Linked DNA regions of Homo sapiens: region 2 is linked to region 1. The links are contacts of gene promoters, found by promoter capture Hi-C in human tissues and cell types (Jung and others, 2019). All regions are on one chromosome and are shown on one strand. Each heading gives the region's core, a stretch centred on a gene start or on the middle of the fragment in contact. The rest is flanking DNA. Distances are from core to core; before and after follow the strand shown. Region 1 holds the start of CPPED1 (calcineurin like phosphoesterase domain containing 1). Region 2 has its middle 500 kb from the start of ERCC4.

Region 1 (5,871 bases), core at 2,098-4,597:
TAGAAATGCTTTTGTTGCCATTGCTGCAATCAGACCACTCTTTTCAAAATAAAAATCTGATCATACATCCTTGCTTCCTCACACATCCAGCTTGAAACCTCTTGATGCTATTAGGACACGACAAAAATCCTTAGTTACCACCACCTCCCTCTCCAGCCTCAGCCCACACCATGTCCCAACCTCATCTTTCTGCTCCAGACTCAGAGACTTCCTTCAGCCCTCATCCTTCCCTTTCCCATCCTGCCATGTCCTAGGACTCTCACACTTGCTCTGCCCATGGTCCACATGGTCTTCCCTCCCTTCGTGGCCCAGTTAACTCATACTCCTCTTTTAGCAATCAGACGAAGCAACACTTCCTCAGGGAAACCCTGCGTGAATGACCTCAGAGCCCACCAGTAGCCAAGCATTATTTTTTGTGCCCTAGCTTTGTACCTGGATTATTACAAGCCTCTGAGAGCATGTAACTTGAACCACTCCCCCGCCCCCAACTTCCTATTCTCCACCATACTGGACAGTGCAATAGGAATATAAGAAATATTTATTTCCTTTCGGTTTTTTTGTTTGTTTGTTTTGAGCTGGAGTCTTGCTCTGTTGTCCAGGGTGGAGTGCAGTGGCACATTCTCGGCTCACTGCAACTTCTGCTTCCCAGGCTCAGGCAATTCTCCTGCCATAGCCTCCCAAGTAGCTAGGACTACAGGCATGTGCCACCACACCCAGCTAATTTTGTATTTTTAGTACAGATGGAGTTTCACCATGTTGACCATGCTGGTCTCGAACTCCTGACCTCAGGTGATCCACCCGCCTCAGTCTCCCAAAGTGCTGGGATTACAGGCGTGAGCCACCGCGGCCGGCCCTCAACAAATATATAGGCGTGAGCCACCGCAGCCAGCCCACAACAAATATTTCTTGAACTGAAAAAAAAAATAATACAGCAGAGTAACAGGGAACTCTCATATACTGCTGGTGGGAGTATAAATTGGCACTACCACTTTGGAAGGCAGTTTGACCACATCTAGTAATGCTGGGGATGATTATACCCTATAACCCAGAACATAGCTTGTAGGTATATGCCTCAGAGTAACTCTCCCATGTGTCCACAAAGAGATTTGTACAGAATGTTCATAACAGCACTGTTACCAAGGGCAAAAACCAGAAACAACTAAATGGCCATTGTATTAGTCAGGATCCTTGCAGGAAATAGTTGGCATTCTCAAATTAGGATGATTTTAAAAAGGGTTTAAAAAGGGATTACTTGGTGGGGGTTGGGTGGACGAAACCTACAAGGGAGTGTGGTAACCCAAGGTTAGAAAAGCAGAACCACTGCCACTCCCACGCCTCAAAGGAGGAAATGGTTACTCAAATCCAGAACTAGAGAGAATGAGGAGAAAAGCTGTCCTGAGAAAAGGAGCGACCTTGACCTTCAGGGGTGGGGAGGAAGACAGCCAGGCGAGGCAACCCCACAGAGTAAACTGCAAGAATAAATACAGCTGCCTTTTGCTTCTCTCCCTGCTCTGATTTCTTCTCAGGGCTCCCCACTGGCTGAGCCCAAAGGAAAACCAAAAGGCAAGGAGCCCACCGATGTAGCTCACGGAGGGCAAACCCCTGGGGCATGGTGGGGAAGGGAGAAAGGTTTGGAGAGGCAAAGGGAAGATATTCAGCATATACATCAACAGAATGTATAAGGTATATAATCATCCAATGGAATGTTGCCCAGCAAGAAAAGAGCAAAATCTTCATGTTGGACAAAAAAGACAAGGTCCATTAAAATACAGTCGTCCCAGGCCGGGCGCGGTGGCTCAGGTCTGTAATCCCAGCACTTTAGGAGGCTGAGGACGGCGGATCACCTGATGTTGTGAGTTCGAGACCAGCCTGGCCAACATGGAGAAACCCCATCTCTACTAAAAATACAAAATTAGCCGGGCGTGGTGGTGCGTGCCTATAGTTCCAGCTACTCCAGAGGCTGAGGCAGGAGAATCGCTTGAACCCGGGAGGCGGAGGTTACAGTGAGCCAAGATCGTGCCACTGCACTCCAGCCTGGGCAATAAAGCAAGACTCCGCCTTAAATGAATAAATAAGGTTTTACCATAGAATTACCGGAGAAACCTACTTTAGATAAGGTAGCAGGTAAAGTCTCTGAGGAAGTGAATGAACTTTAAAATGAGGTGTGACGGTTGAGAGAGCCAGGCTCACCAACCCTGCTAAAGAAGCAGAAAACAGCAAGCGCCAAGACCCTCAGGGAAAGAACGGCCTTGGCCCTTTTAAATGCAGTTCAAACAAGGGCAACAACAAAACCTGTTGCAGAACTGGGCAAGAGAGAGAATGACAACCCTGAAGGAAGTGGACACAAGCCTGATCATATAGGGCATTTAGGGTGACTTCCCTGGGGGTATAAAGCTGGTGAGAGCCTGGGAGGCGATCTGGCTGCAGGCAGCAAAAAGCCACAGAGGGGAATCAACAAACCAGAAACAAACCTCCCTCTTTACTTAGCACCTAGCATGCGTCCAACACCGGGTTACAAAAATACTTTTGATCTGTTTACGCTTCCAACAACCCTATGAGGCAGGTATTATCAAACCCATTTTTAAGGCAAAGCAGATAATCTAAATCCAAAATCCAAGCACTTCACTACGACTCTCGAATGCCCTCCCTCTCTACTGCTCTGATGGGGCAGTGTTACCATTTCGGTGAATGACTTAAATAAACGTCATTATGGAGTACAGAATACATAACGGTGAACAACCTTAATAAAACCGACACCCTCTAACATGCACCGAACGCTTATCCAGTAACACCCACAAGTATTCCCGTTTCACAGATGTGGAAGCTGAGGCCAAGATGCTAATGCACAGCTTGGAAACCAGGTCTCGCTGCAGAGTCCAAGCTGTCATTAACTATGCTTTGCTACCCTCCTCTTACTTCCCTTCTCTGGGGGAAGTTAGGTCAAGGCCAAGGAGGCTCCTAGACCAGATCGCTCTCTCGGCCTCGCCTCTCAACTGCGCCCCTGGAATCCCTAAGAGCAGGCTTTGATGCAGCTATGGCGGCTCCCAGGCCCCGGTGCAGCCCCGGATGGTGTCCGACTGGCGGAGCGCACACCTGAACAAAAGGTTCCCCCGGCGGAAGGTTCCGCAGCCCCAGAGTCCCCTCCCCGGGTGAGGGGCGGGCAGTACCTGCGGGAAACGCGGCCAGGGTCCTGCCCCTGGCTCTGTGGAAAACACCCCCCGCCTCTGCAGCCGACATGGCGAGCGAGTTTCTGGCCTTCACTTAGAACACTGCGTGGGTGGAAGCCGCGCGACTTCACACAGAACAACCGCTGGACCTGTCCCGCTTTGGGCGACGCCCTTTGATCTCGGGGCGGGACTGGGGCGGGACGGGGAGGGGCCCGGTGGCTCGGGGCGCCACTAGTGCTGCCTGGGCGGAGCGGAGGCGCCAGCGGCCCCTCTGGGATCGACCTGCGCGCCTGGCGAGTGGAGACTGTCTAGGGCACGCGTGGGCGGGGATAAGGCTTTGGGGTCAGTCCTTCCCTAAAGGCAGAGTTACTAGATTTAACAAGTAAAAATGCAGGACTCCCGGTTAAATTGGAATTTCAGATTTTTTTTTTTAAAGAATGACTGACTTGGTATAAATATGTCCTATGCAGTATTTGGGAGCTACTTACGTTAAATTTTTTTTTCATTATCTGAAATTCCAATTGAACTGGGCGTCCTAATTTTTTTAAATTTTTCTCTTTTTGCAGGTTTGAATGGAAGCGTCCTGATTTTTTTTTATCTGACAACTCTATCATAAAGTCAGAAGGAGCCACTGGGGTGGCTTACGCCTGTAACCCCAGCTCTTTGGGAGGCCAAGGAGGGAGGATCGCTTGAGTCCAGGTGTTGGAGACCAGCCTGGGCAACACGGCGAGAGACCTTGCCAATACAAAAAAAAAAAAAAAAAAGATGAAAAGGTGGACGTCTTGGAAGACTGTCTCAGCCTGAACTTCCCAGTGGCTGCCACCATCTTTCTGTTATTATCTTTGCTTGCTATGCACCAGGCAGGGCGCTAAGCACTTTGCACGCTGCTCACTTAATCCCCACTACAGCCCTAGGAGGTGGTGCTGTTATTAGCTGCATCCGTCATTTGGGGAAACTGACGCTCAGAGAGATGAACGAACTTGCACAAGGTGACACACATCTAGAGAGGTAGTAAAGCTGCGAGTAACCAAATTAGTGTCTCTTCAACTCAAGAGCCATTGTAGTGAACTACTTAGCCAGCATTTGTCAAACGTGTTGAAAATACAAATTCCAGAATGGACCTATTGAATCCAAATCTCTATGAAAATGATCTGTGTTTTGTTGTTGTTGTTGTTGTTTTGAGACAGGGTCTCACTCTGGTTGCCTAGGCTGGAGTGCAGTGGCACAATCTCTGCAGTCTCGATCTCCTGGGCTCAGGTGATTCTCCCACCTCAGCCTCCTAAGTGGCTGGCACTATTGGCGTGCGCCACCATGCCTGGCTAATACTTTGTATTTTTAGTAGAGACGAGTTTGACTATGTTGCCCAGGCTGATCTGGAACTCCTGAGCTCAAGCAATCCACCCACCCGGGCCTCCTAGAGTGCTAGGATTACAGGCATGAGCCACAGTGCCTGGCCTGAAAATGATCTGTTTTTAACAAGCACTGCAGGGGAGCTCTTATGATCTTACAAATTTGGGAAATTCTTTTCTAAACTAGCTGCCTACATCCAAAGCACTGTTTGAGTAGCTAATATGGCCATAACTACTGTTCTCTAATCCTTGACAAGAGTCACCCATGAATCATAGTGGTTAAGAGTATAAATGCCTATGAGTCCTGGAGTCAGTGGGCTTGGATTAATCCCGGTTCTACCCACTTACTGGTTGTATGCTCTTGAAAATTGCATAGTTTCTCTATGCCTCAGTTTCCCTATCTGTGAAATGGAAACAATAGTAGCATCTAGGTCATAGGGTTGCAGAAAGGCTTAAATGAGTTCATGTATCAAAGTGCTTAGAATAATAGTTCTAATAACAAATGGTAGGTACTCAATGAATATTAGCCATTGTTATTATTAATCAATCACTATAACCCTATTCCCTGAACATGGCCTGGCCCAGAGGAGGAGTCCCAAGAAATGTGAAGGAGGCCGGGCGCAATGGTTCAGGCCTGTAATGCCAGCACTTTGGGAGGTGGAGGTGGCGGATCATGAGGTCTACAGATCGGGACCACCCTCGCCAACATGGTGAAACCTCATCTCAACTAAAAATACAAAAATTAGCTGGGTGTGGTGGTGCACGCCTGTAGTCCCAGCTACTCGGGATGCTAAGGCAGGAGAATCACTTGAACCCGAGAGGCAGAGGTTGCAGTGAGCCGAGATCCCGCCGCTGCACTCCAGCCTGAGCGACAGAGTGAGACTGTGTCTTTAAAAAAAAAAAATGTGAAGGGGAAGCTGAGCACAATGGCTCATGCTTGTAATCCCAGCATTTTGGGAGGTTTAGGCAGGAGGATTACTTGAGCCCAGGAGTTCAAGACCAGCCTGAGCAACATAGTGAGAACTCATCTCTATTAAAAAATTTTTTTTAATTAAAAGAAATGTGAAGGAGAGAATGAATTATAGAAACAGACCCTGCCTCTTATTCACTAGCTTTGCAGTCATACTGGCCATTCAGTTCATTAAACATGCAAATTAATTTCCCTCTCTGCATATGCAGTTCTTTCTGCTTAAAATGCCTCTTCCCAGCTGGGCACCGTGGCTCATGCCTATAATCCCAGCATTTTGGGAGGCCAAGGCAGGTGGATCACGAGGTCAAGAGATCAAGACCATCCTGGCCAACATGGTAAAACCCTGTCTCTACTAAAAATACAAAAATTAGCCAGATGTGGTGGC
Region 2 (5,871 bases), core at 1,087-3,586, 620 kb after region 1:
CTGCATGAATTCACAGTTACACAATGTGGCTCTAGCACCATAAGGACTATAAGTAATAATCTAACCTTGAGAACACAGAAGATAGCATGCTGGTGTGATTGCACTGATACCCTCAGCCAGCTCAGGCAGAATAAACAACACGGGCTAGCAGTGCAGGACAAGAACAGCACATTGCACCTTCCTTAGTGACCACAGCTAATAGCCTGATTAATGAGGCACAGGTGAAACAACCTTGGGGCATTCCCAGAAATAAAGTGGGGACATCCTAAAGGGGCTGGAGGTTCTATGTAAGTAGTTGAAGAAAACTTTAGTAAAATGTGGATATTTAATCTTATATAAACCCACGTGTATGAACTGGTTTGTGAAGATGCAAATTACACTTTACAAAACTTTTAGTTCAAGCTTTGTATTTAATGACCTCACCCTCCAGGGTTTAGTATCTAATTGGAAAAATAAAATTAATATACATTAAATAATGGCGTAAGACAATGTAACAGCTGTCACCAGGGAGCCCTGAATAAATGACTCAAACATTAAGTTTTATAGGGATAAGCTCCAAGAAAGAAGACATTCTGAGAGATGGAAAGAACAGCGGGCCTCCTGGAAGCTGGAAATTTGATCTGTGCTTTGGAAGGTGGTGCAATTAAGTTAGGCAGACAATGAAATCTCAAAACTAGAAATATTTTTGAAAGACTTTTGGCTTTGTGGGACTAATCTTTCCTTTAATATCTAAATAAAACAACTCATAAGAACAACTATTTTTTCCTAAGCATTTTTAGTTTTTAAACCTTAGCCTTTGTTAGCGTGTGATGTCTAGAACTCTGGAGTTTGAAGACATGTGGGAAGTCTAGATGTGGTTATAAGAGAGGATTAAAAAATCAAAAGTAGAGGAGGTAATTTAGAGTGGCTGTTTACTTACGTCTCTTCCTGAACTTGAAGACCAGGGTTGGCCAGATAGTAAGTACTTTTTGACATTGTGGGTCACACAATTTTTATAGCAACTACTCAACTCTGTTGTTGTAGCCAGGAGCAATCATAAACAAGGCATAAACAAATAAGCATGGCTATAACTGTGTTCCAATAAAACTTTATTTACAAAGCCAGGTGGCAGGCTGGATTTGGCCCATGAACCATATAGCTTGCTGACCTCCACTCTAGATGTTCAATTTATTCCATCAATGTTTAGTGAAATCTACACTGCGTTAATCACTGTGAATAAGAACATGGGATAAAAGTTGTTTGCTCAAGCTGGGCACAGTGGCTCATGGCTATAATCCCAGCACTTTGGGAGGCCAAGGCAGGCAGATCACCTGAAGTCAGTAGTTCAAGACCAGGCTGGCCAACATGGCGAAACCCCGTCTCTACTAAAAATACAGAAATTAGCCAGGTGTGGTGGTGGGCACCTGTAATCCCAGCTACTCTGGATGCTGAGGCAGAAGAATTGCTTGAATCTGGAGCGGGGAGGTTGCCCTGAGCGGAGATCGCACCACTGCACTCCAGCCTGGGCAACAGAGTGAGAATCTGTTTCAAAAAAAAAAAAAAAAAAAAAAAAAAAAGGTTTTTTGCTCAGCAGGCGTTTACTGTAGGCTGATTGTGTGCTTGGTGCTGTGCCAGTCAAGTGAAATCTAATATTGAACAGATAAATATGATCCTCCCCTCACAGAAAGCTTCCAGCCTAGGAGTAAAAAGCCTGGAGATGGGGATGGAAGCTATCACAGGATCTAACCCAGTCTTGGGAGATGAAGAAACCAGAAATGTCTTTCCTGAGGAAGGGATGTTCAGTCTGAGATTGGAAGAAGCTTGTTCTTAGCACAGACAGGTTATAAAAGTGGGGGATGGGGGGTAAGGAAAGGCAAGAGTAATGTTCCATATAGAAGAAACACCCATTTCAAAGCACAGAAGGGAGGGTGTCTTTCTTTAAAGAAACAGAAAAATTCATTATGGCTGAGGCAGCCTGATTAATGAAGCCAGAATGAGACAACCCTTCAACCCAAGATGGAATTGGAGGGCTGACTGGGAGCCCACCAACATCCCCAGAAACGCACAAATGCCCCTGACCCTCAGCATGTGCACATTTCTTCTGCAGTGTCAGGGCATTTAATAATCAGCCTTGTTTAGGAACAGCTGAGATTCTGCAGATGACAAACACTATGAAATCCTCTCACGTAGACATTGATTCCACTCAAGAGATGATGGTATTACAGCTGCTCCCAGCGAAACAGCTAGATTTTGCTTCAGGGGAAAGCAGTGATCCAACTTGGACTCTTCACACATACCATGCAAGGAAAAAGTCCATTTCCACATCATTTTCAATACTAATTAAACTGGCACCAATTAATGCAAACCCAGGGAGCATTTGAAGTGATCCTTGGCCCTTTCCCTTCAATAAAAATATGCAGTTGGCTGAAAATCTTCATCCCTCAGGCCAGGTAAGAGAGGATCTGCTGCATTCAGATGTCCTAGAGACAGTGCCATTTCTTCTCTGTGTTATTACTGACAAGTACTTTCTGCATTCCATATAATTCCAATATACCATCCTTGGGCTCTGTATTAATCCGTTTTCATACTGCTGATAAAGACATACCCAAGACTAGGAAGAAAAAGAGGTGTAATTGGACTTACATTTCCACATGGCTGAGGAGTCCTCAGAATCATGGCAGGAGGTGAAAGGCACTTCTTACATGGCTGTGGCAAGAGAAAATGAGGAAAATGCAAAAGCGGAAACCCCTGATAAAACCATCAGATCTCGTGAGACTTATTCACTACCACGAGAACAGTATGGGGGAAACCACCCCCATGATTCAAATTATGTCCCACTGGATCCTTCCCACAACATGTGGGAATTACGGGAGCTACAATTCAAAATGATATTTACGTAGAGACACAGAGCCAAACCATATCAGTCTCTAATTAACTAAGATGCAAACTTCATCCAATAGAACAAAGTAAACACTCAGTAAATTTTAATTTATGTCATTTTGTTGTACATAAAAGAACCCAATACAATATTTGACACACAGTAAGTATCAACAAATATTAGTCCTCTTCCCCTTCTTCCAGGCCATTCTAGTCTTCAACTCTCACATGAAATCTCATAAAACCTCTTATGTGCCGTATTTTCCCAAACGAATCCCAGGTTGGGGTAAATGCTTCCAGCCACACTAAAAGAAATGTCTGATCAGCAGGATGTGGAGGAGATGCTAACTCCCTGGTGACGAGCACAGGAAATGCCCATGTGGTGATCTAAGCCCTTTGTGGGGCTCTTTTCTGCCTGCATCCTCTAATATAAATGGTTGGTTTTGCAGAACCAGCTTTGAATGCATATACCCAATCACTACACAAGTGGAGCTGGTCAGCTTTTCTTGCCTCTGTGGCCACAGGAGAGAGCACTCTCAAAAACACAGGTCACCTCCAAGGACCAACCCACTCGTAAAATACGGGCTGATGTCTGATGGCAAATGCTCCCCATGGAGCCAGCACAGAGGTTCAGTGAGGCTCCAAGGATGTAACAGGCTTCCAGGCTAAAGCACAAAGTAGCAAATATGTTCCTGTCCTTGCTACAAGTGTCAGGATTTTTTTTTAAAAAGTTATTTTTGAATACCTTCAACATTCAAAAGCTATTTATTAATGCCATCAACATTCACATAGCCTGGAGAAAACTACATTGGCACTGACTGATATAAGACAATTGGGTTAGGCTGGGCGTGGTGGCTCATGCCTGCAATCCCAGTGCTTTCAGAGGGTGAGGCAGGTGGATCACTTGAGGTCAGGTGTTCAAGACCAGCCCGGCCAACATGGCGAAACCCCATCTCTACCAAAAATACAAAAATTAGCTGGGCATGGTGGTGCATGCCTATAGTCCTAGCTACTTGGGAGGCTGAGGCAGGAGCATTGCTTGAACCTGAGAGGCGGAGGTTGCAGTGAGCTGAGATCACTCCACTGCATTCCAGCCTGGGTGAAAGAGTGAGACTCTGTCTCAAAACAAACAAACAAAAACAAAGAAACAAACAAACAAAAACCACCACCACCAACAACAACAAACAATTGGGTTAAAAAGTTACATCTGAATGTTGATCCTGTAATTTTCATGACCTTGTGAGTGATCTTAGTGAGATTCAGTCCCCAACTTTGTGTCTCCATTTCTTCATCTTTCTGATGACAGTCTTATTGCACGTGAGAGCTAAGATTCCTCCTAACTCTAAAATGAAAGGTTCCTGTTGTATCTTTGGAGAAAGGAGGAAAGAGACCTGGACTCAAAGTTACAGAACTTGGATTCCTATCCTAATTTTACCACTAATCAGGTGCATGGTCTTGCACAAATAATTTAGTGTCTCTAAGAATCCAGCTGCCTTACCTTAAAATGAGAGGAAGGAGCTTGATCAGCTTTAAGTTTTATGAGTCAGTGACTTGAAGATGGTATTGATCTGGGCATCTTCTCTGAACAGTGGCATCCAGGAGCCCCAGAGGTCAGATATCTGAATGTTTGCCTGAGAAGAGTGAAGGCTTCAATATTCCAGGCAGTACAGAAATTGTCTACTTACTTTGTAGAGAAACCACCAGCCTCTGGCCATCTGACATCTGCCTTGTATTTACCCTGGAGATTGTTTTCTTTATTTTTGTTTTATTACAAAAGGGAGATAAGTTCAAAGGAAGAGAAAAGCAAGAAGAAGAAATAACCCCTGTAATCTACCTTATCCCCCAAAGTTACCAAGAGTTCAATTTCATTTTATAACCTCTGTACCTGTTTTCAGTATCTCCGAGAGAGATCCATCGTTTATCCAAATCATCCCTAAGTTCTTTGGCTTTCGGGGACTAATCTTTCTTTAATATCCAAATAAAACAACTCATTTCCCCTGTATTATTTTTCTATTGCTGCATAACAAATTATCGTACATTTTGGAGCTGATAACAACACCCACTCACAGTTCTATATGTCTGTGTGCATGGCATCCCTGGGTGCTCTGCTCAGGTCTTACAAGGCTAAAATAGAGGTGTCAGTAAGGCTGTGTTCCAACCTGTAGTCTCTGGAGATAAATCCACTTCCAAACTCATTCAGACTGTTGAATTCAGTTCTTTGCAACTGTAGGACTGAGGTCCTGTTTCCTTTCTAGCTGTCAACCAAAGGCTGCTCTCAGCTCCAAGAGGCCACCTGCATCCTTGCCACATTTTGCCATCACCCCATTATCAAGCCAACAAGGACGCATTGAGTTCTCTTCATTCTTCTACTATCTTTATGTCAGGAAGAGCTCTGTCCCTTTTAAGGACTCATCTGATTAGGTCAAGTCCACCCAGGTAATATCTCTTTTGATGAATTTGAAGGCAATTGATTTGTAACCAAACCATAGAAGCCATATCCAATCCCATTCACTGGCCCCACACAGTCCCAAGAGAGGGGATTCTATACAGTATGTACAGGAAGGGCAGGAATTGTGGAGGGTCTCTTAGAATTTTCCTAACTCACGCCAATTCTGCATTACTGCAGGAAATCCAGTCCTCTCCTGAATATCTCACTAGGAAGTAATCTGTTACAGTGCTCCGCATTGAGCTGGGCTCAAAAAGCAACTGATAAATGAATCAAAGTGCTCCTGAATGTAATGACCTTGTGGCCAGCCCCTCTCATTTGCTACTCCAATGTTGCCCACTTCTTGGCCACTTCTGGCCTTATCATCACATTCCAGGCTTCTCTGCCTGTCTCTTCTGCTCCAAACCCCTAGGCATCAGCCCTCCAAGGCAACACTAGCAGAAGGTCAATGCCTGACTGCAGTAAGATTGGGAGAGGAAAAGGCCAATGAAGGCCATCACAAAACAGGGAAAAATGAAATCATGCGAAACTGGGTACCAGGCATCACTACTCCTTAAGTCCAAATCATA

The links. The method cuts DNA at HindIII sites, captures the fragments that hold promoters and counts their contacts. A contact is called where the count stands out against the background at its distance.
Region 2: a fragment that was not itself captured here is called in contact with the fragment with the promoter of CPPED1 in region 1 in 2 of the 25 tissues and cell types used here (hippocampus and thymus).

What each region holds. Positions count from the first base shown.
Region 1 is chr16:12,800,540-12,806,410 of GRCh38, forward strand. It overlaps CPPED1 (calcineurin like phosphoesterase domain containing 1), which reads right to left and starts at 3,348. Exons shown (of 4, transcript NM_018340.3): 1 at 3,168-3,348. The coding sequence starts at 3,237. RefSeq lists enhancers at 1,528-1,607, 2,930-3,299 and a silencer at 3,380-3,429. The HindIII fragment of the contact is 16,943 bases long and covers 1-5,871 here.
Region 2 is chr16:13,418,718-13,424,588 of GRCh38, forward strand. It overlaps a transcript of SHISA9 not described here. Among named protein-coding and RNA genes, the nearest start is that of ERCC4, 500 kb to the right of the region's middle. The HindIII fragment of the contact is 5,103 bases long and covers 1-4,888 here.